2 separate regions of the Homo sapiens genome follow, and region 1 is linked to region 2. Evidence: promoter capture Hi-C in 16 types of primary human blood cells and fetal thymus (Javierre and others, 2016). All regions are on one chromosome and are shown on one strand. Each heading gives the region's core, a stretch centred on a gene start or on the middle of the fragment in contact. The rest is flanking DNA. Distances are from core to core; before and after follow the strand shown. Region 1 has its middle 20 kb from the start of MIR6765. Region 2 holds the start of JAG2 (jagged canonical Notch ligand 2).

Region 1 (4,429 bases), core at 877-3,376, 38 kb after region 2:
TCCCAGCCAAACAAAAAGATACACCTTTTCAAGGGAAAAGGAACAGAAGGCAATGATACATGGCTGCAGATCACATGGCAAAAGTTGAACTTCTGATATGTAAATTTGAGAAGTTTAAGAAAAGAAACAGATAAGAATCAAAACCTCTTATAATTTTACTAAGAGCAAATCAAGACTTTAAGAAAACTTTGTTCTAATACAGGGAACCAATTTTTAGTTTTGTAGTAGTGTATTTTTAATATCAAAACTCAAACCTTAGAAAGATTGTTATAAATAATTATTCAAAATTATAGCTAACTTAATCACATACAAAATTCCTTTTATAAAATTTTCTTTTCATGAACCTTATCACAATTTACACAGGCCATTTAAGTTATGTGTGGACTTTTTGCTTTGTCCTATAATCAGTCATTTTCCTTTAGGACAAAAACTTCACCATACAAGATTCTTTCTCATACAAAATTATTCTCTCTCTCTTTTTTAAACTTTTCTTACCAAAAATATAACTTCATATCCGTAAGCTTCTTTACATCTCTCCCTCCTACTTGCTGGCTTCTTTTAATTTTGTTTCATATTTTTAAAAACCTGAAAATTAGACAAAAATTATTTTTTCTTAATAAATAACATATTTTTATGCCTTTTAAATAATTTTTAAATTAAAAACACATTTTAGGCACATTTATATACAGAATCATATATAAATTAGAATTTTTAACTCTTAGTAAACTTAAATTTAGTAAAAACCTAGGAAGCCAGAAATCTTGAATTGTCTGTCACATATTAGAATTTTATTGATGAGAACCATATTATAATTTTATTTTTGAGATGGAGTCTCGCTCTATCACCCAGGCTGGAGTGCAGTGGCATGATCTCGGCTCACTGCAACCTCCTTCTCCCAGGTTCAAGTGATTCTCCCACCTCAGCCTCCCAAACAGCTGGGACTACAGGTGTATGCCACCATGCCCAGCTAATTTTTGTATTTTTGTAGTGATGGGGTTTTGCCATGTCAGCCAGGCTGGTCTTGAACTCCTGACCTCAGGTGATCTGCCCGCCTCAGCCTCCCAAAGTACTGAGATTTCAGGCATGAGCCACCATGCACAGCTTATATTATAATTTTTAGAAACATGTAACATAATTTTTCTTAGTTGGAAATGGAGACATTTAATTTAAGATTTCAAACATGAAAAGTTTATTTATAGGCATTTATCCCATTGACATTTACTTATTTAGTAAATTGCTTTTCTAGACCCTCAAGATAAGGTCTTTGGCTAGATTAATTATAAAAACTGAGATATTAGACAAAGTGAATCATCATTTTATAAGTTATTTTCCTGCTAACCATTTTTACAGCCTGTGAATATTAGGTGTTCACCTAAGTAAGAACATTAAAGTTAAATATATATGGCTATTTTTCTGATAACTCAGAAGATTTAGCTGTTTTTATTAAACCAACAATATGAAATAATTTTTCTTATAAAAAATTACATAAAGATCATTCTGTTTCTGGCTGGGTTTATAGTTTTATAGCCTTCATGCTAAACCCTGACATCTTAAATATTTATTAGCTCATATAAACCTGTCTGACCACTCAACCCAGGCAAAAACATATGCTGACAATTCCGAAGACATTTCTATCTTTTATTTTACCACTAATTTCAAACCCATCTTATTTCTTAGAGATTTACTTAAGTCAGATGAACTTCAAAAATATTTGGGCTTACTAATTTATGAGCACTCATTTATTTATAAGTCATTTGGTACTACGTAGACACAACATATAATAAATGTACATATTTGTAAACACATCAAACACATACACACACACAAATGTCTTACAGCTTTCATTTTAGAATTTTAGTCATGAGACATTAATAAGAAACTCACTGGTTTATAAAAGATGTTTGGATCCAAGTTACACTTTTTTTTTTTTTTTTTTGAGACAGACTCTCTCGCTCTTCTTGCCCAGGCTGGAGTGCAGTGGCACAATCTTGGCTCACTGCAACCTCCACCTCCCAGGTTCAAGCGAATCTTGTGCCTCAGCCTCCCGAGTAGCTGGGATTACAGGTACCCACCACCACGCCCAGCTAATATTTGTATCTTTAGTGAGGATGGGGTTTCACTAGGTTGGTCAGGCTGGTCTTGAACTCCTTACCTCAAGTGATCTACCCGCCTTGGCCTTCCAAAGTGCTGGGATTACAGGTGTGAGCCACCACGCCTGGCCCCAAGTTACATTTCTGACAAAATTGGGACATGTTCACGTGGCTAAACTTTATTTGCTTTAATGAGTAATGTAATGAAGGCTGTGAACCCAAATTTTGGGTAAAGCAGTTTCCATGGCAGTTTGATTTTTAACACCCCTTTTACATTTTTTTTTTTTTAGTTTTACATGAGTTTAGGGTTAAAAATTCAGTGTCTACATTTTAGTTAGAACTGGCTGAATTCTGTAAGAAAAACAAAATCTCCAGGTAGTCTTGAACTAGTAACACCATAAACAATGAGTTTTATCTGGAAAGCACTAGAAAAGTCAGTAGATTCAGGCTGGGCATGGTGGCTCACGCCTGTAATTCCAGCACTTTGGGAGGCCAAGGTGGGCGGATCACGAGGTCAGGAGATCGAGACCAACCTGGCTAACACAGTGAAATCCCGTCTCTACTAAAAAAATAGAAAATATTAGCCAGGCATGGTGGCGGGTGCCTATAGTCCCAGCTACTCGGGAGGCTGAGGCAGGAGAACGGCGTGAACCTGGGAGGCGGAGCTTACAGTGAGCCGAGATTGTGCCACTGCACTCCAGCCTGGGCAACAGAGCGAGACTCTGTCTCAAAAAAAAAAAAAAAAAAAGAAAAGAAAAGTCAGCAGATTCAACGTATTCAGAAAGAAAAGAAAAAAAAAAGAGAGAGAACTTAGAAGACTCTACATGTTAATAACTCTAGCTGCAGATTGGTTGCTTGAGCTCTGAATTTTCTTTGATGTTATTTGTCCATCAGTTTAAACAAGTGGACAAGAATGGGCAATAGTATGTAGCTGGCTGCAGTCCCAGAAAACCTGGCATGCCTTAATGTTTGAAAATCCAATTTTTGGTCATTTCAGTGTTAAATCATTGTCTCTCTTTCTCCCTCTGGTTATCTAAAAACTTGTGGGGCCTCAGAAGAGCCGATTGTCAATTGCTTGTGACAAGGAATTTCCTATGGGACCTCTGTGCATTGCAAGGATTGCACCTCCAACACCTCCACGAGCCCTCTAATCACCGAGGGTTGCCAAATCAGAATCCAGCTGGAAGGAGCAAATATTCCCGGTCTTTGGAGTTGACTCAGGTCAAACTCTCATAGATTTTTAAGAGCTTCTGTCCTGCTGAGGTTTACTTACAGAGTCAAACGGAAAGGGGGAGCACGGGCACAACCTAGCCAATCAGACACCTCACGTGATCATTTCTTCCTAGTGTTTCAGCTAGGAGAAATCCCCTTCTCAAGAAACAGAAGTCGCAAGGAAGAACTTCCCCCTTCATCAAGGAGTCGTAGCAACTATGTGTAAATAAATCTCAAGACCACCAGCTATGTGTGAGGAGAGACTCACTCAGTGGTCTTTAACCACTGGGGACCCAGAGGGACTCAAAGGGCCCATGCTGGTACCAAGGCACCGGGTCCTGGTGATGTTTTGGACAACTCTGGGCAGTTGGCTTGGAGTTCCCTCATGGTCACCATGATTGTTGACTAAAGGAGAAAAAATCAAGCTTTCAAATAACTAAAGTTAGTTTTATTCTGAAGTCTTACTGAGGACTACAGATTGAGGCCTATAGCCTGGGAGCAGCTCTGTCAGGCTGCTCCAACACAGTGTTTCAGCTCACTGCTTGTGTACAGAGTGGGGGCTTAATATGCACAAGAGCACATCAAACATGCTCGGGAGTGACATTGAAGCAGAGTCCCGTCGAGGTCTGGTGGTAGAGTACATCTGCTTATAGATGACAGCGGCATCATCACGAACCCCTTCAGGTGTTGGTCATCTTATGTGTAGGAAGAGGCAATAATTTTTTTTTTTTTTTTTTTAGAGTCAGAGTCTTGCACTGTCATCCAGGCTGGAGCGCAGTGATTGATTTTTTTTAATTTAATCAACAATCATGGTGACCATGAGGGGACTCAGAGCCGATTCTCCAGGGTTGTCTGATCATAGCTCACTGTGTAACCTCAAACTCCTGAGCTCAAGTGATCCTCCTGCCTCAGACTCCCAAGCAGCTAGGCATGCACCACCATGCCCAGCTACTTAAAAAAAATTTTAAGGCCAAGCACTGTGGCTCATGCCTGTAATCCCAGCACTTTGGGAGGCCGAGGCAGGTGGATCACTTGAGGTCAGGAGTTTGAGATCAACCTGGCCAGTATGGTGAAACCCCATCTCTACTAAAAATATAAAAATTAGCTGGGTGTGATGGGGCATGCCT
Region 2 (4,512 bases), core at 680-3,179:
GAAGGGACCCCCTCTCCGATGCCTCCTATGTCCCCCTCCTTCCTAAGGGCAGGTGCGGCCACCTTCCTGACCTGGGTGCTCTCATGGACATCGTGAGGTCTGGCTGACCCATGCCCGTCCACGCTCTGGCGGCCCCCTATGCCAGCTTCTGTATGACTTGTCTAAGTCCTCTGTCCACCCCCGGGCTGGGGGCTCCTGAGGGTGTGCAGGGGCGGAGTCTCCCTTGTTCACCACTTGGCCAAGTGCCCAGCAGAGGCACCCAGCACCCCCTCCCCCACCATAGTGGGGCAGTGGGCGCAGGTGGGGATGGAGCCCTGGGCCTCTGGAGCCGGGCAGGGGGCTTCTCTGTCCTGGGGCTTCCCTCTCTCGAGTACCCGAGTACCTGCCCCCAGGCCAAAGCACAGGAGAGGTGGCATCTCCACAGGGAGCCCCTCCCCCCGTAGGCGGTAATCACCGCCCACACACCGGAAGGCGGCAACTGGAAGGCTCTGAACACAGCTTGGATTCTCTTGTTTGGTGGGGGTCTCTGTGCGGGCCTCATCCTGGCTTGTGTCTTAATCCCCACGAAGCCTACCCACCACCAAGTTTGGGGTGGGCACTCTGAGCAGAGCCAGCTGAGGTGGGCATGGGGGGCTCCCACCCACCCCTTTAGGGACCTTCAGCTGAGCCTGCGGCCTGGATCCTGGAGGAGCTGCTAAACAGGGATGGAGCAGGCAGACCCTGCGCATGGGGTGTTCACAGGCCCTGTGCCTCCAAAGCTCTCTTCCTTCAGCCCTCAGCCCCAGCAGCATGGTGGCAGTGACTTGCTCCAGGCTGGGGGGCTGCACAGCCACCCAGCTCCGGGCACAGGGCAAATTTGCGAGAGGAGCTAGGGGGAGAGAAGACAGCTCAGTTATCATGGGGATGGGTTGAGGACCCCTCTGGACCATATGGGGATCTTTAACCACCAAGGTGACCCCTAGCTCTGGAAAGGACCGTGCTCACTGGAGGAGAGGAAGGTGCCATTGGTTTTGACCCTGTGGAGGAGCTGCGAGGTCACCCAGGGAGAGGGCAAGGAGGTGACCGCAGAGGATGGGGTGTGGAAGCCTGGTGACCAGGGCAGCAGTGGGAGGCCTCTCTCGGGGTAGCCTTCAGGGACAGGCACTGCCGACTTTTGTTCCCCATTTCCCGCCTCTCGCCCCCCAAGCCCAGACCTGAGTTTGGGGGGCGAGAGGCGGGAAACGGGGAATGTGGCCTGAGCATTTCCTGAGGGCATGGCCTGGCTACCTCGACGCCAGCGCCGAGCTGAGCAGTCTGCACCCTGGAGCATTTGTTGACTGGCTGCTTGACCAGCGCGCCTCGCAGAGGGGAAGGCAGGGGCGTCGGAGGGGCGCAGCGCCCCCTGCAGCCGGCGTGGAGGCGGTAGGAGCGGCGCGGAGAAGGGGAGATTCTCGGAGGAGGTGGGGGGCGCGCAGTAGGGGCTGGGCCCGGCTCTGGCCCCAGGGCCGCGCCACCCCGCGTGGGGGCCGAGCCCTGATCAGAGTAGGAGGCGGCATCTCCTCTGGGACTGCGAGGAGCGCGGCGGTGGCGCACTGATGGGAGGGGACCACACGGCAACCTCGGGGCGCCCCACCCCCGGTTTCTGACACCCGGCAGGAGCCCAGGCGGAGGAGGGGAGGCAGCTTTGCGGCGCCGGCGCACGCCTCGCCGACTCACGCGGAGGTGTGAGCGGGGCCCCCGCGGCCCGCGCTGACCCCGAGGCCCCGTGCCCCCGCCGCCCGGGCGCCCTGGGGGGCGCGCGCCGGGCCGGGGCGCTGGCAGGCGACGCCCTCCACCGCCTTTAAAGCCTGGGGCGCCCCCGGACCCCCCCCCGGCCCCACCCCGCGGCGCGGCCCCGCCCCCTCATGCATATGCAGGTGCGCGGGTGACGAATGGGCGAGCGAGCTGTCAGTCTCGTTCCGAACTTGTTGGCTGCGGTGCCGGGAGCGCGGGCGCGCAGAGCCGAGGCCGGGACCCGCTGCCTTCACCGCCGCCGCCGTCGCCGCCGGGTGGGAGCCGGGCCGGGCAGCCGGAGCGCGGCCGCCAGCGAGCCGGAGCTGCCGCCGCCCCTGCACGCCCGCCGCCCAGGCCCGCGCGCCGCGGCGCTGCGCTCGACCCCGCCCGCGCCGCCGCCGCCGCCGCCTCTGCCGCTGCCGCTGCCTCTGCGGGCGCTCGGAGGGCGGGCGGGCGCTGGGAGGCCGGCGCGGCGGCTGGGAGCCGGGCGCGGGCGGCGGCGGCGGGGCCGGGCGGGCGGGTCGCGGGGGCAATGCGGGCGCAGGGCCGGGGGCGCCTTCCCCGGCGGCTGCTGCTGCTGCTGGCGCTCTGGGTGCAGGTGAGCGGGGCGGCGGGGGCGGCGGGGGTCGCGGACGGGGCACACCGGGCCGCCCCTAGGGGCCGGGCGGGCACTGCCTGGGGCCGCCGTGGTTCGGAAGCCCTCGAGGCTGCGCGCGGCGGCTGGGGCTCCGGGCGGGCGCGGCTGGGTGGGGGCGGGGCGGCGGGGCCTGTTCCCCCACCCCTGGCGCCCGGCCCGCCGACCCCGGCCCGCGCCTCCCTCCGCTCTCCCGCTGCCTTATTTTTAGGCGGCGCGGCCCATGGGCTATTTCGAGCTGCAGCTGAGCGCGCTGCGGAACGTGAACGGGGAGCTGCTGAGCGGCGCCTGCTGTGACGGCGACGGCCGGACAACGCGCGCGGGGGGCTGCGGCCACGACGAGTGCGACACGTACGTGCGCGTGTGCCTTAAGGAGTACCAGGCCAAGGTGACGCCCACGGGGCCCTGCAGCTACGGCCACGGCGCCACGCCCGTGCTGGGCGGCAACTCCTTCTACCTGCCGCCGGCGGGCGCTGCGGGGGACCGAGCGCGGGCGCGGGCCCGGGCCGGCGGCGACCAGGACCCGGGCCTCGTCGTCATCCCCTTCCAGTTCGCCTGGCCGGTACGTGCGCTCCATCCCTCGTGCTCCAGCCCTTCCCTCTCTCTCCGCGCCCCGGCCCCGCGCGCTTCGCGACCCCCAACACCTGCGGCCGGGTCTGCGTGCGAGCCGCGCGCGCCCAGGCGGGGCGGGGCCGGCAGGGGGCGCGTGCTCTGGGGACTTGGTCCGCGCCTGGCCACGTGGGCGCGCCGGGGCCCCGGGGCCACCGGGAGCGGGGTCGCGGCGGGGGCGGGGCGGCGGCGTCCCGCGTGCGCGGCGGTGTGCGGCGTGTGCCTGCGTCGCCCTGCGCGTGTCTGTCTGGGTGGGGAGGCGAGGCGAGGCGCCCCGGTCCCGGGCAGGCCGCGGTGGCATGTGCGCAGCGCGTGCTGGGGCTGGTCTAGGGCAGGCCCTGACTGAGCCGCCCCGGGCCCGTGGCCAGCCTGCGCCTGCCCTGCAGTTTCCTGGATGCCTGGGGGGCACGGGCGGGCGCCGTGGGACCTAGGCCCGGGAGAGCCTAACGCCTAACGCTTATGTCGGCAGAAGCCCCCGATGGTGACCCAAGATCGTTCAGAGACAGAGATAGTGGATCCTGGTGCAGTGACCTTCTGTGGCACTGCCCTGTTTGTGGGTTTTTTTGGTTTTGTTATTCTGGAGGGGCAGAAGCTGAGTCGGGGCTGTCTGGTCTCCCCTGGCAGGTGGCCAGTCAGGCAGGAGCCCTGGCCTGGGCGTGCTGGGAGGAGGGGTGGTAGGGGTCCAGTGTCACTGGGAAACAGGTACTCATCCCAGTGGGCTGGCAGGTGGGTAGTGGTAGGTGGGCAGGCCCAGGCCTCGGGCGCCTTACCTCATTGCCTGGAGCACGGCCTTGCCCTGGTGCCCAGAGGTCCTTCCCTGCTTGGTCATTGTGCTGGGGGCCTGGAACTGGGTGAGTGCGGGAATGAGAGCACCATGCAGACCTGTGATCAGGGAGTAGATGGATCTGGGAGCCAGGAAGTGGCTCCAGTCAGCAGGAGGCACCGGAGTGTGCCCACCTGGTATCCTGGGCCCTGAAGTGATTGTGAGTTGAGGGCAATCCCTGCCGAGCTCACGCCAGTTGGGCCTGCCGTGTGTGGCTCCCAGTCCTGTGCTGTACCTTTGCAGCCCTGGCTGGCAGCCTTGCCTGCTGCCCCCATCCTCACCGCTTCCTGAGCTCCCACCCGTGGAAGCTGGCCACAGTCTCCTCTGGCCATGTCCTCAACCCGTGAGCACCCCGCCGAGTATCCCTTGACCAGGGGGGCCCCAGAGAGGGGAAAGTGTCCCCCAGATGGAAAAGGCAGGGGCGGGCATGGGAGGGCCCAGGCAGTTGTGAGAAGCCCAGCCCCTCGCCCCCACGGCGGTGCAGCAGGCAGGTCTGAGCAGGGCCCGCAGCCTGTCATCTGCACCTGGGCCTGAGCCAGCGTGGCCCCACATCGCTACCTGAGGATGTGTTTTCTGCTCGAGTTGGCAGCAGTGGGTGTGGGGGCAGGGAGGTCTTGGAGGAATGTGGCGGGCTATCGCGTGTCCGCCCTGGCTCTTCGCCCCGCGGGCCAGCCGGTCAGGTGTGGGATGGGAC

Evidence for each region. Contacts are between HindIII fragments. The CHiCAGO score rates a contact against its expected background, and 5 or more counts as called.
Region 1: a fragment that was not itself captured here is called in contact with the fragment with the promoter of JAG2 in region 2 in 1 of 17 cell types (endothelial precursors); the score reaches 5.0 in endothelial precursors.

Annotation. Positions count from the first base shown.
Region 1 is chr14:105,128,579-105,133,007 of GRCh38, reverse strand. No RefSeq gene overlaps it. Among named protein-coding and RNA genes, the nearest start is that of MIR6765, 20 kb to the left of the region's middle. The HindIII fragment of the contact is 3,206 bases long and covers 524-3,729 here.
Region 2 is chr14:105,166,193-105,170,704 of GRCh38, reverse strand. JAG2 (jagged canonical Notch ligand 2) reads left to right here and starts at 1,929. Exons shown (of 26, transcript NM_002226.5): 1 at 1,929-2,350; 2 at 2,598-2,948. The coding sequence starts at 2,285. RefSeq lists enhancers at 1-59, 2,708-3,207. The HindIII fragment of the contact is 17,945 bases long and covers 1-4,512 here.